2 separate regions of the Homo sapiens genome follow, and region 2 is linked to region 1. Evidence: promoter capture Hi-C in human tissues and cell types (Jung and others, 2019). All regions are on one chromosome and are shown on one strand. The core of a region is centred on a gene start or on the middle of the fragment in contact, and the rest is flanking DNA. Distances in the headings are between cores, read along the strand shown. Region 1 holds the start of ZNF765 (zinc finger protein 765). Region 2 overlaps LOC124904792 (zinc finger protein 480-like).

The links. Contacts are between HindIII fragments. The study calls those that stand out against the background at their distance.
Region 2: a contact is called between a fragment that was not itself captured here and the fragment with the promoter of ZNF765 in region 1, in 1 of the 25 tissues and cell types used here (bladder).

The regions. Positions count from the first base shown.
Region 1 is chr19:53,391,998-53,397,545 of GRCh38, forward strand. ZNF765 (zinc finger protein 765) reads left to right here and starts at 3,152. Exons shown (of 4, transcript NM_001040185.3): 1 at 3,152-3,196. ZNF765-ZNF761 (ZNF765-ZNF761 readthrough) reads left to right here and starts at 3,152. Exons shown (of 13, transcript NM_001350496.2): 1 at 3,152-3,196. RefSeq lists a silencer at 3,022-3,221. The HindIII fragment of the contact is 15,738 bases long and covers 1-5,548 here.
Region 2 is chr19:53,201,204-53,206,751 of GRCh38, forward strand. LOC124904792 (zinc finger protein 480-like) reads left to right here. Exons shown (of 5, transcript XM_047439805.1): 2 at 2,813-2,939; 3 at 3,746-3,877. Among named protein-coding and RNA genes, the nearest start is that of ZNF665, 11 kb to the left of the region's middle. The HindIII fragment of the contact is 4,533 bases long and covers 688-5,220 here.

The DNA of each region.
Region 1 (5,548 bases), core at 1,902-4,401:
CAATGTGCTGGGATTACAGGCATGAGCCACCGCGCCTGGTCTGAAGTGGTATTTTTTAGAAACGAACTAAACCTTTTTTCAGCTTAATGACCCAGGGATGTATTTCTGAAGGACTTGGGAGCTCTCTTTGAAAGGCAAAATACAAGGGAGACAGTACCTGTATCTCAGTAGGAAATTAAGTAATTCAAACATCAAATAATTCCAATTTAAAGCTATGGCCTTTAAATAATTCTGAGCCTTTGAGGAGAGAGGCCATTTCTCTTACTGTCTCCTGTCTCTGAAGAGGAGGAAGTAAAAGCTGAAAAACAACAGGAATGAATTCAGTGACAAGACCAGCCAGCGCCACTGATGACCAGGCCTGAGGTTAAAAGATTAACTGCCCCCCAACTCTAACCACATGTGCTCTTAATCTGTCATGACCTTTTCCCGTGGAACCCCTTAGAGCTGTAAGCCCTTAAAAGGGCCAGGAACTCTTTCTTCGGGGGGTTCAATTCTTGAGAGGCAGGTCTGCCGACACTCCCGGCCAAACAAAGTCTTCAAAGAGCTCGGTTCTTGAGACGTGAGTTGGCCGATGCTCCCGGCTGAATAAAGCCACTTCTTTCTTTAACCGGGTGTCTGAGGGCTTTTATCCGCGGCTGCTCCTGCTACACCTTGAGAGGAATGTGCTCATGCAACCTGAGTCCAGCGGAACGCAGGCGTAACTTCTACGAGTTTTCCTGGCTGGCTGCGGTGGCTTATGCCTGTAATCCCAGCACATTGGGAGGTCAAGGCGGGCAGATCACTTGAGGTCAGAAGTTCGGAACCAGCCTGGCCAACATGGTAAAACCCACTCTCTACTAAAAATGCAAAACAAAAGGCGAGGCGCGGTGGCTCACGCCTGTAATCCCAGCATTTTGGAAGGCTGAGGCGGGCGGATCACAAGGTCAGGAGTTTGAGACCAGCCTGCCCAACATGGCGAAACCCTGTCACTACTAAAAATACAAAATTTAGCGGCTGGGCCAGGAGAATCGCTTGAACCCGGGAGGTGGAGGTTGCAGTGAGCAGGTGAGATCGTGTCACTGCACTCCAGCCTAGGCAACAGAGCGAGACTCTGTCTCAAACAAACAAACAAAAAATTAGACAGGCATGGTGGCGTGTGCCTGTAATCCCAGCTACTTGGGAGGCTGAGGCAGGAGAACTGCTTGAATCCAAGAGGTGGAGGTTGCAGTGAGCCGAGATCGCCCCACTGCACTCCAGCCTGGGCGAGTCTTGCCCTTATTTACAGGAAAAGAGTTCTCCTGTAAATAACTAGGAAGACTAAGCAGCCCCAGAGATAAGGCCTCCTGGGATCATTGTCCCTTTTTATGGAGTGATAACATAACCTTCCTTGAAGTGTATGACTCCGTCACCAATCAACTTGCTGCAACCTATGCACTGGTCTTGAATGGAAAATGTGTTGATTCTCCTAAAACTTCTCTGTCTTTCCCTGTGTGTGAAACCTTAACGTCTCTACTTGGGAACGTTGATCCCATTCATTAGGAGTTGATGTTTGCCGGTGGCTATCCTCATGCTTTGTGTTCAGATAAACTCTATACTTAATCATAAATTCTAAATGTTATTATTTACTGCTGACATCAGTTTCTGTCACATTGTAGGAGCCTCACCAGAGAGGGCACCTGTAGCCATGTTGTAAAACTCACACTTGTCAAAAAGACATGGGTTAGTGTTTCTCCCCCTCCCTCTGCATGAAGCTAATTAGCTGACACAGATGGTCACCTCCATTACCAACTAGAGCCAGGATGAACTATGTGTGACCAAGGGTGTTGTCAAGTCCTTTTCCCTGAGGACTGATTAGTGTTTATCTTGAAAACATGTACTTAATGGGTTGTATAGAACTGTGAAGTGTCTTTCTCTTTTTTCAACCTCTTAGCTCTTTGCCTCTATTTCCCATCACATTCTGGTCTAAGGCTTACTTATTAATAAAATGGTGTTTATTTCTTTCTCTATTATCGTCATGGAGATGTTTTGTCATTTGGGGGAAGATTTTTTTGTTTCGTTTTCAATTGTATTTTCTTAACAATTAGAAAGTGAAGTAAAAAGTATTTGGCCAGGCGCGGTGGCTCCCGCCTGTGATCCCAGCACTTTGAGGAGGCCCAGGCAGGTGGATCCCTTAAAGTCAAGAGTTTGAGACCACACTGGCCAACATGGTGAAACTCGTCTACAAAAATACAAAAATTAGCCGGGCATGGTGGCACGCGCCTGTAATTGCAGATACTCTGGAGGCTGAGGCAGGGGAATCGCTGAAACCCAGGAGGCAGAGGCTGCAGTGAGCCGAGATCCCATCACGGCACTCTAGCCTGGGCGACAGAGAAATACTCTGTCTCAAAACAAAAGAAATAAGTAAATAAATAAAGGAATAAATCTCTTCCAAAAATGTGCTGAGGCAACTAACTGGATATCCACATGGAAAAGAATACTGTTAGATCCCTATCTCACACAATCAAACTCTTATTTTAAAACGTTTAAAAAAAAAGGAAAAAAAAGAGAGAGTGACGAGGAAGGGAGCCCTGCGGGAGGGGGTGTTACATTGTCGCCCAGGCTGGCCTGGACCCCCAGGCTCAGCAATCCTCCCGCCGCTGCTTCCTGAGTAGCTGGGACCTCAGTCTCCCGCGCCCGCGCCCACATCCCTGCTGTGTTTATCCAGAAGGTGGTGACCTCACTCCTCGCTGGCCTGAGCATTCCGTCCCACATCCCAGGCGGTGGCCCTAGGGAAGTCTCTGCAGCTGAGCACAGGGTGGACTCTCCCTCCCAAGTGAATGGAGACTGGAAAGGGAGAGGATTTCTATTCTGTTTTGTGGGCTGTCAGCATGAAATCGTACGTTCCATCCAGGCAGGGCTTTGCATTTTACATTCCAGTTTGCATCCCCGTTCCAGACAATTCCAGGGCTTTTGAATCATGCCTCAGCCTTCCTGGCCGGTCTCGCCTCCAAAACCCGAAAACTGAGGCCCTGGGAGCCAGGCTGAGAGACTCACAGGTCCCGCCACAGCCCCGCCCTCTGTCGGTTCTAAAGGGTAAAGTCTCTCTGCCCCGCCCCTACCTCGCCCAAGCCCGCCCACCTCCTCGCGGGTCCCGCCCAGGCCTGGCTTCTTTCCTGCGCGCGCAGCTTCGCGCAGACCCGGAAGCGGACGGCGTGGAGTGACTATCCCACCGCCGCGGGTGAGTTTCGCTCTGTTTTGTATTAAGTCTGTGCTTCCCAGGTCCCTGGCGCTTCTGTACCTGGGGCGTGGGGTCTCCACTAACCTGGAAATTCTCAGCCGTCTTCCTTCACCCAGAGCAAGTTGAGACGACCCCGTGAGAGTCCGGGGGTCGCTTCCTTTTGGGTTTAAGGTCCCCCTGAGGCTGGTCCCGTCCCGGGTGTTTCTGCTATAGGGCAATGTATACACTTTCTATCACGTAGTTTTCCTGCTCTGAAACTTTTTCTGACTCCTCCCGTCCCGCGCTTTTTAAAGTCCTCACCCGAGAGGTGAATTCCCTCCCTGAGCGCCTCCCAGTCTCGCCCTCGTTGGCAGCTGGACGCAGCGCGGCGGCCCCAGCCCCAAGGAGGCCGCGTCCTCTGTCTGGTCCTGGGATCCTGCAGACCCCACCCTTGTCTTAAGGCGCCGTGGCGCCGCCGCCTCCCTCCTTTTGCGGGCCCTACTGCTCCCCAGGTTCGCCTCCACAGTCACTGCTTTCCCTGAGCCCGAGTTAGGGAGGTGCCCGGGGCCTGTCCTGTGACACGGGGTGTTCTTGCCTGCCCAGCTCCAGCCCCTGGAAAATGCGCTCCCCCGGGATGCAGGCGTTTTGCTCCAAACCCTCCTGTGTCTTATCCAAAGCCTCCGGTGCTTGTGTAGGCTAAAGGGATCAGGAGACAGACGTAGAGCAGTAGAAAACCTGAGACAGAAAAGAAGAATAAAAAAGACTCATAACAGATGGCAAAGTAGAGGATGGGTGAGGGATTTGCCAGACACAGCAAATGTGGGGGAAAAAAAAAAAAAGGAGGAGAAAAGCAACTGGAGAAATGTAGAGAAAAGGTAGATGTACAGAGAGATGAAGGACAGAGAGCAAGGTAGGGAGAGGGACAGCAAAGAGGGAGGCTCATCAGAGTGAGGGAGAGGAGGAGGGATTTGGAGCCAGGGCAGACAGAGCAGAGTGGTGCTGGTGGCAAGGAGAACAGAGGGAGAAGCACAGCAGGGAGGACACCTGGGGATCTGGGGTGCTAGAGAGTGGGGATGAGGGTATAACAGGGAAGAGAGAATGTAACAGGGAGAGCAGAGGAGGCGCAGAGATGGTGTTGCGGGAAACTAAGTACTAGAGAGACCGGTATGCGGGAGACAGAACGATGTTTATTTAAGGTACGCACCGGCTCAGTGGATTTACATCTAAAAAGCTGAGCATTTCAACAAAGACAGAGTGGGGTTTTTATAAGCAGGCTTACAGAAGCAAAATAAAAGCAGTTAATCATGTAATGATTGGTCACATAATCTATAGCATAGCATAACTTGTGGCCTTGCATAGCTGGTGGTCTTGTAGCTGCATTGAAAGAAAAACAAGAACAGCTAAATACAGACTTTTTTTTTCTTCACTCTTGTTCTAAAGTGGGGTTTTCTGGAGCTCATTCCTTTGGCTTCAGCTGCACAAAAAGCGTTATCTTATAACTGTCCTTGAAGTGAGCTTGCTAGGCAGAGGAAAACTTGTTCTTCTTTTCTTTTTAACCCTTGCCTTGCCTGTTAGTTTTTTGGAGTGAATGAATGCATATTGATTTTTTAAATTTCTGCCTCAGTTTTCTCCCTTTGCTGCTTTTTATAAATAAGGTTTTAATAGAAAGCACCACTATTACTGGATTCTTCATGAAAGAGCAGGTTTTCTTCTTTAGGCACAGGCTGATATTTATATGGAGCTATTAGCTGAGTGGTAGTCTGCCTAGTCACAATTGCTTCTATAGTTGATTGAACGTTCTTAACAAGGAGAGGTGAGGTAAGGGAGTATTAAACCAATTCTTAGTATTTCTAGAACCACTCCTGTTAAGGTTTTGAATCGACTGAAGGAGGAAAACCAGCCTCTAAAGAGGGACTCGGGAGTCTACTTTGTCTAAGTCTGGACTGGAACATGGGATAATTTTTTTATTCTTGCAGTTACTTCTATAACAGCCTTCCTATTGTCATTGATTTCTAGGCAGCAATTAGTTAGATTAAACTTTCTACATACTCCTCCTTCCTAGGCTAGGAGGTAGTCGAAAGCTAATCTATTTTGGTAGATGGCATTTCTCATTTTTGTGGCTTGCTGGGCCAGTAAGTCTAATGCATTTGCTGTTTCATTAGTGATGATTCCAAGTACTGCTTGCAACTTTATGATGCGGTTAAGCGTGTAAACTTAAGTGTGCCCGGCTCAATTTTTGAATTTTTAGTAGAGACAGGGTTTCACCATGTTGGCCAGGCTGGTCTCGAACTCCTGAGCTCAAGCGATCCTCACACCTCAGCCTCCTAAGTAACTGGGACCACAGACACACAGACGTGCACAACCATGCCTGGC
Region 2 (5,548 bases), core at 1,704-4,203, 190 kb before region 1:
TGGGACGAGGCCCCACTGGGCATGGTCCTGGGAAGGGCTCACACCCATACATGGATGGACACGGCATGTGAGCCCCGTAGTGTTAGGACTGTTAGGCAAGAGGGATTGTTTAGCGGCCACATCTGGATGCACTGTGAGGTCTCTGTGGACCAGGAGTAGAGAAGCTGCACATGGAAGTCATGTACTAATGCGCACAAGTACCTGGTAATTCCAGAAAAGGAGGCTGATGAGGGGAATTCTGGCACATTGTTTGTCTGATTTAAGAATACATTCGAAGATAAATACATGAATCTGTATGTTTTTGGCTCCAGAATTGTTATGATTTGGAATGGAATGGAAAGTTCAGAAACACCTTAGTGAGGGGAGGGTGTTTTATTCTAGCACTGATTTGTTCTCTTTTTTGAGATGGAGTTTCGCTCTTGTTGCCTGGGTTAGAGTGCGATGGTGTGATCTTTGCTCACTGTAACCTCCGCCTCCCAGGTTCAAGCGATTATCCTGCCTCAGCCTCCCGAGTAGCTGGGATTACAGGCATGTGTCACCATGCCCGGCTAATTTTGTATTTTTAGGAGAGACGGGGTTTCTCCATGTTGGTCAGGCTGGTCTCAAACTCCCAAACTCAGGTGATCCATCCGCCTCGTCCTTCCAAAGTGCTGGGATTACCGGCGTGAGCCACCACGCCTGGCTCCACCAATTTTAAAATATGAAATCAATCTAAATCTCTTTTTTTTTTTTTGAGACAAAGTCTCACTCTTGTCCCCTAGGCTGGAGTGCGATGGTGCGATGTTGGCTCACTGCAACTTCCGTCTCCTGGGTTCAAGTGATTCTCCTGCCTGGGCCCCCTGAGTAGCTGGGATTACAGGTGCTTGCCACCACACCGGGCTAATTTTTGTATTTTTAGTAGAGATGGGGTTTTACCATGTTGGCCAGGCTGGTCTTGAACTCCTGACCTGAGGTGATCCACCTGCCTTGGCCTCCCAAAGTGCTGGGATTACAGGTGTGAGCCACCGCACCCGGCCAGAAAACAATCTAAATCTCTAACAGAAGGAGATTCTTTACGTCATTTTCAGCACATCCTTCTCTTGGAGGTTGCTTTTCAGCCTCTTGATTCTTTCTTTTGATGCAGAGATGTTTGTAAGTTTGATGTAGTCCCATTTGTATATTTTTGCTTTTCTTGCCTGTGTCTTTGGTGTCATATCTTAGAAATGACTGCAAAATTCAGTTTCGCAAACCTTTTCTCCTACACTTTCTTCTAGGAGTTTTATCATGTTAGGTCATATGTTGAGGCTTTTAATTCATTTTTCTTTTTTTTTGTTGTTTGTTTTTGTTTTTTGTTTTTTTTGTTACCCAGGCTGGAGTACAGTGGTGCGATCTTGGCTCACTGCAGCCTCTGCCTCCCGGGTTCAAGTGATTTTCCTGCCTCAGCCTCCCGAGTAGCTGGGACTACAGGTGCCCGCCATTTCACCACGTTGCCCAGGCTGGTCTCGAACTCTTGACCTCAGGTGATCCTCCCGCCTCAGCCTCCCAAAGTGCTGGGATTACAGGCGTGAGCCACTGCGCCCAGCCTAAATATTTAAATTTAAATGGATAGAATTTTATTTGTAGTTTGACTATAACTATTTCATAGGGATTGGAGTTAAAGTTTTAAATATTTTTTTCATGTTTTTACCATTCTTTTATTGGCATTATATAACATAATGTTGACAAACTAAGTTAAATACAACTTATACACTTTACTGTCCCCAAGATGCTGAAATGCACATGAGGAAAAATGATAATGAAAAAGTCATAAAAAGTATGTCATTGAGAGGCATGTTTTCTCTTTGTTAATTTACATTCGTGTATATATGTGTGCATGAATGTATGGATGAACTATCCTATGGCGTTTATAGACGACACATCACCATTTCATAAATCAGTTCCGTATTTTTATTTTTTTATTTTATTTTATTTATTTATTTTTTTGAGACGGAGTCTTACTTTGTTTCCCAGGCTGGAGTGCAGTGGTGCGATCTCGGCTCACTGCAACCTCTACCTCCTGGTTCAAGTGATTCTCCTGCCTCAGCCTCCCGAGTACCTGAGATTACAGGTGTGCACCACCACGCCCAGCTAATTTTCGTATTTTTAGTAGAGACGGGGTTTCACCATGTTGGCCAGTATGATATCAATCTCTTGACCTCATGATCACCAGCCTTGGCCTCCCAACGTGCTGGGATTACAGACGTGAGCCACCACGCCCGGCCACACTTTTTAGATTCTGACCTTTCTTTCTTTAAAGACACCATGGACATTGTCATCTCTGAAGACAACACACTTCTTCCAGCTCCTCCAGATACTGAATATCACTTTGTGTGTCAAACATAATATCTAGCACTTCTATAGAGATAGCTGTGTGTTGACTATTTATTTCTACGTTTCTTCCATTGTCTACAGAAAGAGAAATCCACACTTATTTAGAAGATATCATAAGCTCTTACAGAAGAGTATAATAAAATGCAATTAGGGAGACATACCTAATGTTCTTCCTAACGTCCCTAAATGCCCCAAAATACCTTAGCATGGATCTGCCAGAACTCTCCCTTCAGTAAATCAATACAATTCTCTCTTTTTCTCATTTTATGTAAAGATGATAACTCTCCCCCATGTGCTTGGTAAAATGTGTTTTTCAGACACGGTTTGCCTGAAAATACCTTTCCATGGATTTCCCAGAACGTTCATTTAAACTAAATTGACTTATACCTCTCTTTTTGTCATTTTGTGTGAAGATAATAGCTCTCCCCATGACTTCTTGGTGAAATGTGTTTTTTCATATCAGGGAAGGTTGACATTCAGGGACGTGGCCATCGAATTCTCTCAGGAGGAGTGGAAATGCCTGGACCCTGCTCAGAGGGCTTTGTACAGGGACGTGATGTTGGAGAACTACAGGAACCTGGTCTCCCTGGGTGAGGATAATGCCCCTCCAGAAGCTGGGATCTGCTCTGCTGTATCTCTGCATGTTCCCTGTGTGCCTCTTGGGAGCCCCTGCATTGCTCAATTAAGACTGAAGCTATGTTAATTCTCAGATGAAAAGCTTAATAGTGCAGCATCTGGACTTAATTATCCCATTTTCAAATGATCTACCTCCTTCAAGATATATCATTGGTGGTTCCAGAGCTTAAGTAGAAATAAACCCTATGGTAGACTTTAAAAATATCTACTTTGGGCCAGCGTGGTGGCTCACGCCTGTAATCCCAGCACTTTGGGAGGCCAAGGCGGGTGGGTCACCTGAGGTCAGGAGTTTGAGACTAGCCTGGCCAACATGGTGAAACCCCATCTCTACTAAAAATACAAAAAATTAGCCAGGCGTGGTGCCGAGCGCTTGTAATCCCAGCTACTTGGGAGGCCAAGGCAGGAGAATCACTTGAACCCGGGAGGCGGAGGTTGCAGTAAACCGAGATCGCGCCACTGCACTCCAGCCTGGGCAGCAAGAGCGAAACTCCATCTCAAAAAAAAAAAAAAAAGAAAAAGAAAAAGTAAAAAAATCCACTTTGCTCTTTTCTGCCCCTTTGCTTGTGATTCAGTACTTCCTAGAGGACAGTTCGATGTTCGTATTTTACCATGTTCCCTAAACATTCAGAAGGAGGCATTCAGTGGGTGAATTTGTGAAATATTTTTCTAGATCCATTTGTAATGTCCTCTTTCCTCCTCTAAACAAAGGGCTGGGATTCTGTAAAAGCCACAGCACATTACATGCCTTTCTTTTTCTAAGCAGGAATCTCTCTTTCTGAAATGAGTATTACCTCCATGTTGGGGCAAGGGAAAGAGCCCTGGACTGTGGAGAGTGAAGTGAAAATAACAAAAACATCAAGTGGTTGGGAATGCATCAAAGGTGTGAACACAGGTAAGAGCTCAAATGGACAGAGAGGAAGCTGCACCATTAGTATTCAGGTAACTCCTTCCGAGTTGAAGAGTTCTGTGGAACAAAAAGGGTTTAAATCCTGTGAGCTCTCAATGGAAACCTTTCTTTGCCCTCATTTATCCCTCTGCTCTTCTGACGTGTAGTAGTTTATCCTTTCACACTCCCATGGCGCTACAGCTCCAACAGTGACAAAGGCAAAGTCTTTATCATGATGGACAACACCCTGTCATGTGGCTTCTGTGACCTCTTTGGTTTCTTCACTCTGAGGGGCACAGGGAGGGTTGTGTCCAAGAGGTCTCCTGTGATCTCTCCTGTACCTGACTGCGTCTGATGCTCAGTTCTCTGTCTATACAGATCAGAGCTGAGGCCTCCATGGACCTGCCCCCTTGACCTATTCAGGTTTTGCCCCATTTCCTGTACTTGGGAGACCTAATCAGGTGACGGGAAAACATTGGCAGCTCCTCCTTTGCATCTGGGGCTCCGGAAACCTCATGGTGCTGTCTCCAGCCCTGTCTGTCTGTCAAAGTCTTTCAGCCTCAGTCATTTCTTCTGTTCTGCTTTTGCCACAGATTGCAGTGTGCGCCACAGGGGAGTACACGGGGTTTTCTGAGATTGTTTACTCAGGTCTGGAATGGCACTAGACAGAGAGGTCCTCTTTTTTTTTTTCTTCGAGACAGAGTCTGGCTCTCTTGCCCAGGCTGTGATGCAGTGGTGAGATCTCAACTCACTGGAACCTCTGCCTCCCAGGTTCAAGTAATTCTCTTCCCTCAGCCTCCTGAGTAGCTGGAACTACAGGCACATGTCACCACACCTGGCTAATTTTTGTATTTTTTTAAAAATTATTATACTTTAAGTTTTGGCATACATGTGCAGAACGTGCAGGTTTGTTACATAGGTATACGTGTGCCATGGAGGTTTGCTGCACCCATCAACCCGTCATCTATATTAGGTATTTCTCCTAATGCTATCCCTCCCCTACCTCCCCATCCCCTCCACAGGCCCTGGTATGTGATGTTCCCCCTCCCTGTGTCCATGTGTTCTCATTGTTCAACTCCCACTTATGAGTGAGAACATGCAGTGTTTGGTTTTCTGTTGTGTTAGTTTGCTGAGAATGATGGTTTCCAGCTTCATCCATGTCCCTGCAAAGGACATGGACTTATCCTTCTTTATGGCTGCATAGTATTCCATGGTGTATATGTGCCATATTTTCATTATCCAGAAACTAATATTTCTGGATAATGGGCATTTGGGTTGGTTCCAAGTCTTTGCTGTTGTGAATAGTGCCACAATAAACATACGTGTGCATGTGTCTTTGTAGTAGAATGATTTATAATCCTTTGGGTATATACCCAGTAATGGGATTGCTGGGTCAAATGGTATTTCTAGTTCTACATCCTTGAGGAATTGCCACACTGTCTTCCACAATGGTTAAACTAATTTACACTCCCACCAACAGTGTAAAAGCATTCCTATTTCTCCACATCCTCTCCAGCATCTGTTGTTTCCTGACATTTTAATGATCAGCATTCTAACTGGCATGAGATGCTTTCTCATTGTGGTTTTGATTTGTGTTTCTCTAATGACCAGTGATGATGAGCTTTTTTTCATATGTTTCTTGGCCACATAAATGTCTTCTTTTGAGAAGTGTCTGTT